2 separate regions of the Homo sapiens genome follow, and region 2 is linked to region 1. The links are contacts of gene promoters, found by promoter capture Hi-C in blood cells and fetal thymus (Javierre and others, 2016). All regions are on one chromosome and are shown on one strand. Each heading gives the region's core, a stretch centred on a gene start or on the middle of the fragment in contact. The rest is flanking DNA. Distances are from core to core; before and after follow the strand shown.

The links. The method cuts DNA at HindIII sites, captures the fragments that hold promoters and counts their contacts. A CHiCAGO score of 5 or more calls a contact.
Region 2: a contact is called between a fragment that was not itself captured here and the fragment with the promoter of AGTPBP1 in region 1, in 4 of 17 cell types (fetal thymus, total CD8 T cells, naive CD8 T cells and 1 more). The highest score is 12.9, in fetal thymus.

The regions. Positions count from the first base shown.
Region 1 is chr9:85,739,954-85,743,579 of GRCh38, forward strand. It overlaps AGTPBP1 (ATP/GTP binding carboxypeptidase 1), which reads right to left and starts at 2,001. Exons shown (of 26, transcript NM_001330701.2): 1 at 1,822-2,001. RefSeq lists an enhancer at 1,015-1,164 and silencers at 1,335-1,654, 1,725-2,324. The HindIII fragment of the contact is 1,776 bases long and covers 726-2,501 here.
Region 2 is chr9:86,947,795-86,951,420 of GRCh38, forward strand. It overlaps GAS1RR (GAS1 adjacent regulatory RNA), which reads left to right and starts at 904. Exons shown (of 7, transcript NR_049794.1): 1 at 904-1,199; 2 at 3,073-3,205. The HindIII fragment of the contact is 930 bases long and covers 1,477-2,406 here.

The sequences.
Region 1 (3,626 bases), core at 751-3,250:
GATCGCACCACTGGCACTCTAGCCTGGGCGAGAGAGTGAGACTCCGTCTCAAAAAAAAAAAAAAAGTAAAATACAAATTACAAAATTTCATAACTGTTGGACCTCTTTTCCTTCTGCTAATGGAAGTAAAACCATTATTATATAGCAGCCTAGCCAGACTTTTCTAAAGAGAAGAATGCCTCAATTCGGAAAAGCTTTATAAAAATTGCTTCTACAAAAGTTTAATTAATAGATTTAAATGCTTTGCAATGTTGGCCAAATACGAGGGTAGTTTTAAGCCTATCCACTTCATTTCCGAGTTCAGAGTGAGTCTGCAGTTGTAATTATGTGATTAATCAATTCAAGGCAGAGTTTTGTGATCATTAAAAATGAACCTGTAACTTCACCATAGAATTTAACTTAAGAGAAGTGGAATGGGAAAAAGAGCAAGTCATATTAGAACTCTGCCTGCATGATGAGAAACAGTGGGTAAGGCACGACTTATTATTTCGCAGTAATTCTACATAGGAAATACAGATCTTTCAGAGTTTTGTTTGGTTTTGACATTTGGCACATGTTTTAAAATAAGCACCATTTAAAGTTCCTTAAATAAATCATTTCTTTTTTGGCCTACTGAACTAAAAACATTCCACAATACAATTACAAAAATAACTTTCCGGTTTTCTCAGACAACCAGTTTATAAGAATAATTCAGAAGTTCACAAAGGATAATTTGATTTACATAAAGCTTAAAAAACGGACATAAAAGGTAAGTGAAAATGACCGATTAAGAAGACTGTTAAGGTCCTTTCTAACTACAAATTGTCATGCATTGTAATTAAACACAACTACAATGTTAAACACCTGAAGGAAAAAACCCACATAGAATTAATACTGCCAAAGAAAATTTCCGCTATCTTCAGGCACTTGAGTAAGCTATGTTAAAACGGGAAATGGGCTTTAAATTATCAACATTCACATCGATTACACTATGATGCATGAAAACTCCATTCTACAATGAGTAAACGCCCAAGAAAGGAACCCAACCAACTCCAATTGCCCTGGTGCTCGTAAGAGGTTTATACCGCACAAGGGGTAAAACAACGGTAGAGTCGAGCAAGCCTTTGGGTTACAACAGTCCTTGAACACTTGCAATTGAGAACCCGCAATTCAGGAAGGAAGACACTAAGGAAACTCTGCACTGTCATCCAGGGTGATCTGATTCAGGTTCAAACCAAACGCTCAAGGCGACAAGTTGTAAACAGAAGACACACTTCAGCTCAAACCACCCAGCGAGAGGAAGCAAACGTGCCCATCGCCGATGTCACAGCAAATCCCACCTTGCTGGCGCTCAGTCGGGAACGCTAGAATTCTCGAAGCACAGGGGCCCGCGATTCAGCGGCCCGCTACCACTGGGGCGGGGGAGAGCGGGGCTGGGCGCGCCCGCCCCCGGCCCTGCAGCCCCTCGGCTGGACTCCCCGCGGCGCCGCGAGCTCGGGCCCGAGAGAAAGGGCTGAGCAGAAAGGGCGGCCTCCGCCCAGAGACCGCGCCCGATACCCTCCGCAAGGTCTGGGACGGGGATCCACCGAGGGTCCGGGGACTGGGGAAGGCGTTTTCCAGACCCAGTCAAAGCCCCACCCCGTCAGGGCTTTCCCTCAAGACCGAGTGCGTTCCCCTCACGCGTCACATGTGTAACATGCGTTACACAACCCGTCAGGTAAGGGGCGCAGGGATCCGGGGTCGCCCCTCCTACCCCCGGGCGCCGTCGCTCGCATCTCCCGCGGCCCGGGGAGAGCAGAGGGACGGCCGGCCGGGACATGAGGACTGCAGCAGGGCGCTCACCGGCTCAGGATGGGGCGCTGGCGGGGACCGCGCAGAGCCGCAGCACCCGGCTCAGCACCTGGATCACGGCGGATCCCTCGCCGCCCGCCGCCCGGTGTTTTCATACAAACCCCGGTGGCAGGCGAGGCGGAGGCGGCGGCGGCGGCAGCTGCGGCGGCGGCGCTGGAGGCGGCGGAACCTGTCCGCATCCCGGGCAACGTCAGCGCGGCGCCCCGCCCACCGCACGCCTTGCCAGCCGGCTCCCAGCACGCGCAGGGAGTGGGGGCGGGGCGTGCGAGGCCGCGAAAGGGGCGGGGCGGAGCGCACGCCCTCTTCCCGCCGCGTCCCTTGTTACCTCCGTGCGCGCTGCGCCCCGCCTCTCTGCGCGCCTGACGGGAGGGAGCGCGCGCGTGGGGGCGGAGCGCGCACGGGAGCGGGAATTAGGGGCGGGTGTTCCGCGCGCTGCCGGTCCCTTGTACCCAGCAGCCCCGGCCACCGCCCCTCCGTACCGAACTGCGAGCGACTCCCCACGTTCTTCAAGTCATCTTTCTGTACACTCCCAACGAGGGCCCCAGCCTTTTCCCGGAACTAAGCCCGCGCCCACCCCCTCCCCCGCCATCAATCAGTCACTTTCTTAGGAAGGGTTCTTAAAGCTCCCCACGTGATCCCGGGGTCGCATCAAACGCTGGGGACTGCGGTAAAGCTTAGACCTTTCCTGACCTCAAGGAGGGTCCATAATAAGAGGCTGGAAGGGACATGCTGTTACTACAATCGGGCTCCCAGAAAACAACAGGATTGCACCTTGTGGCCAAATCTCAGTAAATTAGATGCCTAGTGCTGCAGCGAACAAAATAGCATGCTGATTTACTGTTTTTTGAAAAAGTGCCTGCATATAATCAAAACGGTAATGCTAAGTTGGCTACTGAAGGCAAAGGCGGAATGTTTTATCTGAGCCAAAGTAATGTGTCAGAGAAATTACTAATACACCCCCTTCTGTTTTGACTGTACTTCAGTGTACTGCAATGTATTGCAAATAAATACTGACATCATTTACTTTTTCACGTTGCACAAGAACATGTTTGCTACTGTTTATGGTAAGGAATGTAATATCACAACTAGATAAGGGAATGCATTGAGAACTGTGAGATTTTTGTTTTGTTTTATGATCTTGTTCAAATAAAATTAAGCAGGTGTGAAAGCAATTCAAAAAGTAACCCAAGGTACACCACAGTGCTTCTTACAGTTTGCCCTTGGTAGATGTCTTTATTCAGATGAACAAGAAACTGCCATTTTATAAACATCGTAGTTTCCCTCATCGTGAGCACTAAAAGATAGGTTACGGTATTTAAAATAATTTTGAAACAACCACCACCCCAAACCACCCAATCAGAAACGTATTATCTGAAAATACCCAATAATAATGTAATAATTTTACAATAATGCTAAATATGTATGTAATATACCTGAAACTTTTCTTAAAGAACATGTTTCTAAATGAGTCAACCTGCAATATAGGAAGATATTATGTGGATGTGTGTGTTTGTGGAATTTGAATCCCACTTTCACAAGCACTGTTAGCATAGTTTGATGACCACAACACAGACCCAGGAGATTAACCCACACAAGATAAATAGCAGCATTACATAGCTTTGAAATGATTCCAATCACATAGTTTGCCACAAGAGTGAGTGATTTATGTTTTGCGGTAATTAAGAACTTAGAGCTACTCCCCCACCCCCTGGGAATGTGACATCACTCTTCATCAGATCCCACGTGTATGAAGTTGAAATAAACTTCACCTCTCCTAGCTAATGTGACGTTACACC
Region 2 (3,626 bases), core at 692-3,191, 1.2 Mb after region 1:
GAGTGGGGTTGCGGAGTGGGGGAGGGCGGGAGGGTGGTGGGCAGCTCACATTCAGGCATTCAGGGCTTGAAAGGAACGGCTTAGGGAGCCTGACGGAGGCCCGGAGCTCCTCCTACTCTTAAGGAGGCTCGGATATGCAGCCCCAGCTCGCGCACAGAACCAGCGGGCAGGGCTTAGGGGCAGCTGTTTGCATCCGGCTCAGCCACGGGCCTTTTTTGTTTGTTTTTTTTTTCTTTTTTTTTTTTTTTGTAGTTTTATTAATTCTCGCTGGCCCCCATCTGTGCTTTCGACTGGATTCAGAACTCAGTTTATCTTCCAGGCTCCCTGTCTTTGGGTCTTGATCACCACAGAGGGGAAGGGGAGAATCCAGAGATAAAATGTGAGACTGAAACTGTTTTAAAGAAGCATACAAGAAAGAAGCACACACTTTATTAGGGAGATGTTGATGAGATGCTTACAACCCGCCCGCCACCCCCCAGCCCCAGCTAGGCCATCTGGCAGGTACCGCCCGTGCGCCAGGCATCGTTTTCAAATTGCAAGACCGAAATCCAATCAACCGAAATAATTTCTTAGGAAGATAAGCTTGCAACACGTGCAATAATGAAAAAATTTAACTAGCATTAAAAATATTCAGGAATGTCGAGCAATTACCACCTGGCCGCAGTCACAGGACAGAAGACGGAATAAATGGGCACGCACCAAAGGTTTATATTAAAGTGTAAGTTTCAGCCCCTCAGTATATTTAAGGGAGGCTGCTCTGCAGAGGAAACCTCTGCCTTCTCGGCGAGGGAGTTTCCGAGCTACCTTAACTGGGGCGCAACGCAGCCTTCCGCCACCAGAGGCAGCGGGCGTCTGCGGCCTGTCAAAAACTGGCGCTTTTTTCCTCCCCTTTCCGTGGAGAGACTATCAACTCCATCTGTCACAAAAATTAAGGCTAAATCTCCTCTCCAGAAGCAGAGGGAGCCGGGGCTCCGACGCGCTCAGCGTCGGGCTGTCTGCCTCTCCCTAGAGGCCAAGTGAATTTGAAATGGCAAAAGTCACAGCCGGAGGCCCAGCACTAGGAGATTCCTCCGGCTGCGGGAAATCTTCCTGTACCTGCTGAAGCTGCTGCGTTCCTCAGAGGCGCTTGGTCTGCCGTGGGAAGCTGCACCTCTGCAGTCCCCAAAACCAAAATCAAACCTTAAAAGAGCCAGACTGAGGTAAGGCGGACCGTCTTGCTCTGATTTGAGTATTGGTAGACAAACAGCAATATAAATCGATACTAAAAAAATCCAGAAAGGCTGCAACTTCATGGCACATCAAAACAACCATATCCCTGGCTCTCTGTCTCTTTTTTTTTCTCTATTATTTGGAGTTGTCCTCTCAGTCCGGCCTGGAGGACTTGGACAACTCAGACACCTTCTCTGTGTCTGGGATCCCTCCACAGGTAAGGTTCGAAGCCAATTAGACAATTGAAAAATCCCCTCTTGTCTTTAAAGCTTTGTTATTTTAGGCCCATAAGGAACAAAGTCAGCACTCGGTTTCATCTTTACTTGAATTTTTGTTGAGTTCCTTTAGAATAGTGGGACCCAAACCTTAGCACGTATCCTAAAACTCAGATCCCTAGTTTTTGGAGTTTCTGATTTAGTTGGACTGGTGGGTCCCAAGAATATGCATTTCTAACAAGTTCTCAGGGAATGCTGCTCTCAAACTTTGAGAATCACTGCTCTCAAAGTTAACATGTTTCTTTTCTGTGTTGTTGCTGTGTTTTTGGTAACACTTGCCCCACCTTGGCCTTGATACAGCTCTCAGTGGGGTTTAAGGGAGGCCCAAGAGCTCTGCATGCTTTGGGGACTTCTGCATCCCAGTCACATAGCATTAGCATTGCAAGCCTGAGGGGTTCTCAGCCCACTTTTTACTGTGTCATTTCCATTCACCACAATAGGCTATACTGTCTTCTATCTTAAAAAAACATAATAGTAAAACCTTCTAGACTCCACGTCCCTATTCAGTCACTATCCCATTTTCATGAAAACTTGAAAATCTTGCTTTTACTCACTTTCCCCACTCGATTCACTCTACATAATCGAGTTCCATTCGATTATGTAGAGTCGCTAGTGACCAAAACCTTGCTCTACCTGATTGTCACTTCTCAGTCCTCAGCTTATATGACGTTTCAGCAGCATTGGCCATGACTGATCACCTCCTTTTCAAAGCGCTTTCTAAAATTTTGGCTTCCGAAACTCCATACTCCCCTGTTCTCTCATTTTACTGCCTGGTGGCTCCTTCTGTCTCTCAACTCCTTAGGTAACCACATCTAGTGCCTTGATTTTAAATTGCATCTCCTAATTTGATGTTTTCAATCTCAGTCTTTCTCTGATCTCCATATGTATATATTCACTTGGTTCCAAGGACATCTCAAACTTAAGCTTCCCCAAGAGCACTTCTAAATTTCCATCCCCAAAACCTATTTGTTTACTGGGCTTACTGTGGTAGATACCCTCCAAAATTGGTCTCCATCACTTTTCTCCCTACCTTTACATCCTTACTACTCAGATCAAAAGGCAGAGTATAATCCCCTTCCCCTTGAGTCTTGGGTAGGCCTTACTGACTTTGACCAATAGGACATAGTGAAAGTGACTGACATTCTGGGGCCTCCAAGGCTAGATCACAAGAAGCCTTGCAGCTTCTACTCGGGCCTTGTATTAGTCCGTTTTCACACTGCTGATAAAGATATACCCAAGATTGGGCAATTTACAAAAGAAAGAGGTTTACTGGACTTAGGGTTCCACATGGCTGGGGAGGCCTCACAATTATGGTGGAAGGCAAGGAGGAGCAAATCACATCTTACATGGATGGCAGCAGGCAACGAGAGGGCTTGTGCAGAGAAACTCCTGTTTTTAAAACCATCATATCTCATGAGACCCATTCACTGTCATGAAAACAGCATGGGAAAGATACACCCCCATGATTCAGTCATCTCCCACTGGGTCCCTCCCACAATATGTGGGAATTATGGGAGCTACAAGATGAGATTTGGGTGGGAACACAGAGCCAAACCTTATCAGGCCTCTTGGAATACTTGCTCTGCAGAAGCCAGTCACCACGTAAGACATCTGGACCACCTTCAGACTCGCATGCTGTGAGGAAGCCCATGCTTACTATGTGTAGAGGATACATGGAGAAGGAAAGAGATGCCTGGCCAGCTCCCTGCTGTTTCAGCCATGTGAGTGAAGAAGGCACCAGACTTGTGAGTGGAGACACTAACTTGGATGTCCAGCCCAGCTGAACCTTCAGGTGACTCCAGCTCTAGCTGCCATCCTACTGAAGACACATGAGAGAGACCCCAAGCCAGGGTCAAGATCAGCGTGAAGCAAGTGAGGCATTTTGGTGCAAAATGTAAGGAGGCATTGACCTTCATAATTGGGCTCCAAGACTCCAAGAGTGAGTGCCTCCTTAAATTTTGTACTTTAGACACTACACTCACCTTTCTCTAGTTCTGGTCTTGCCTCAAGCAAGAAGAGCAGAGCTTAGCTCAGTCAACCCAAAGAATCCTGAGAAATAACAAAAAAATATTCTTTTAAGCCACTCAGTTTTGAGATGGTTTGTTATGCAACAATAGAGCATTAGAACTTTTCTTCCTGTCC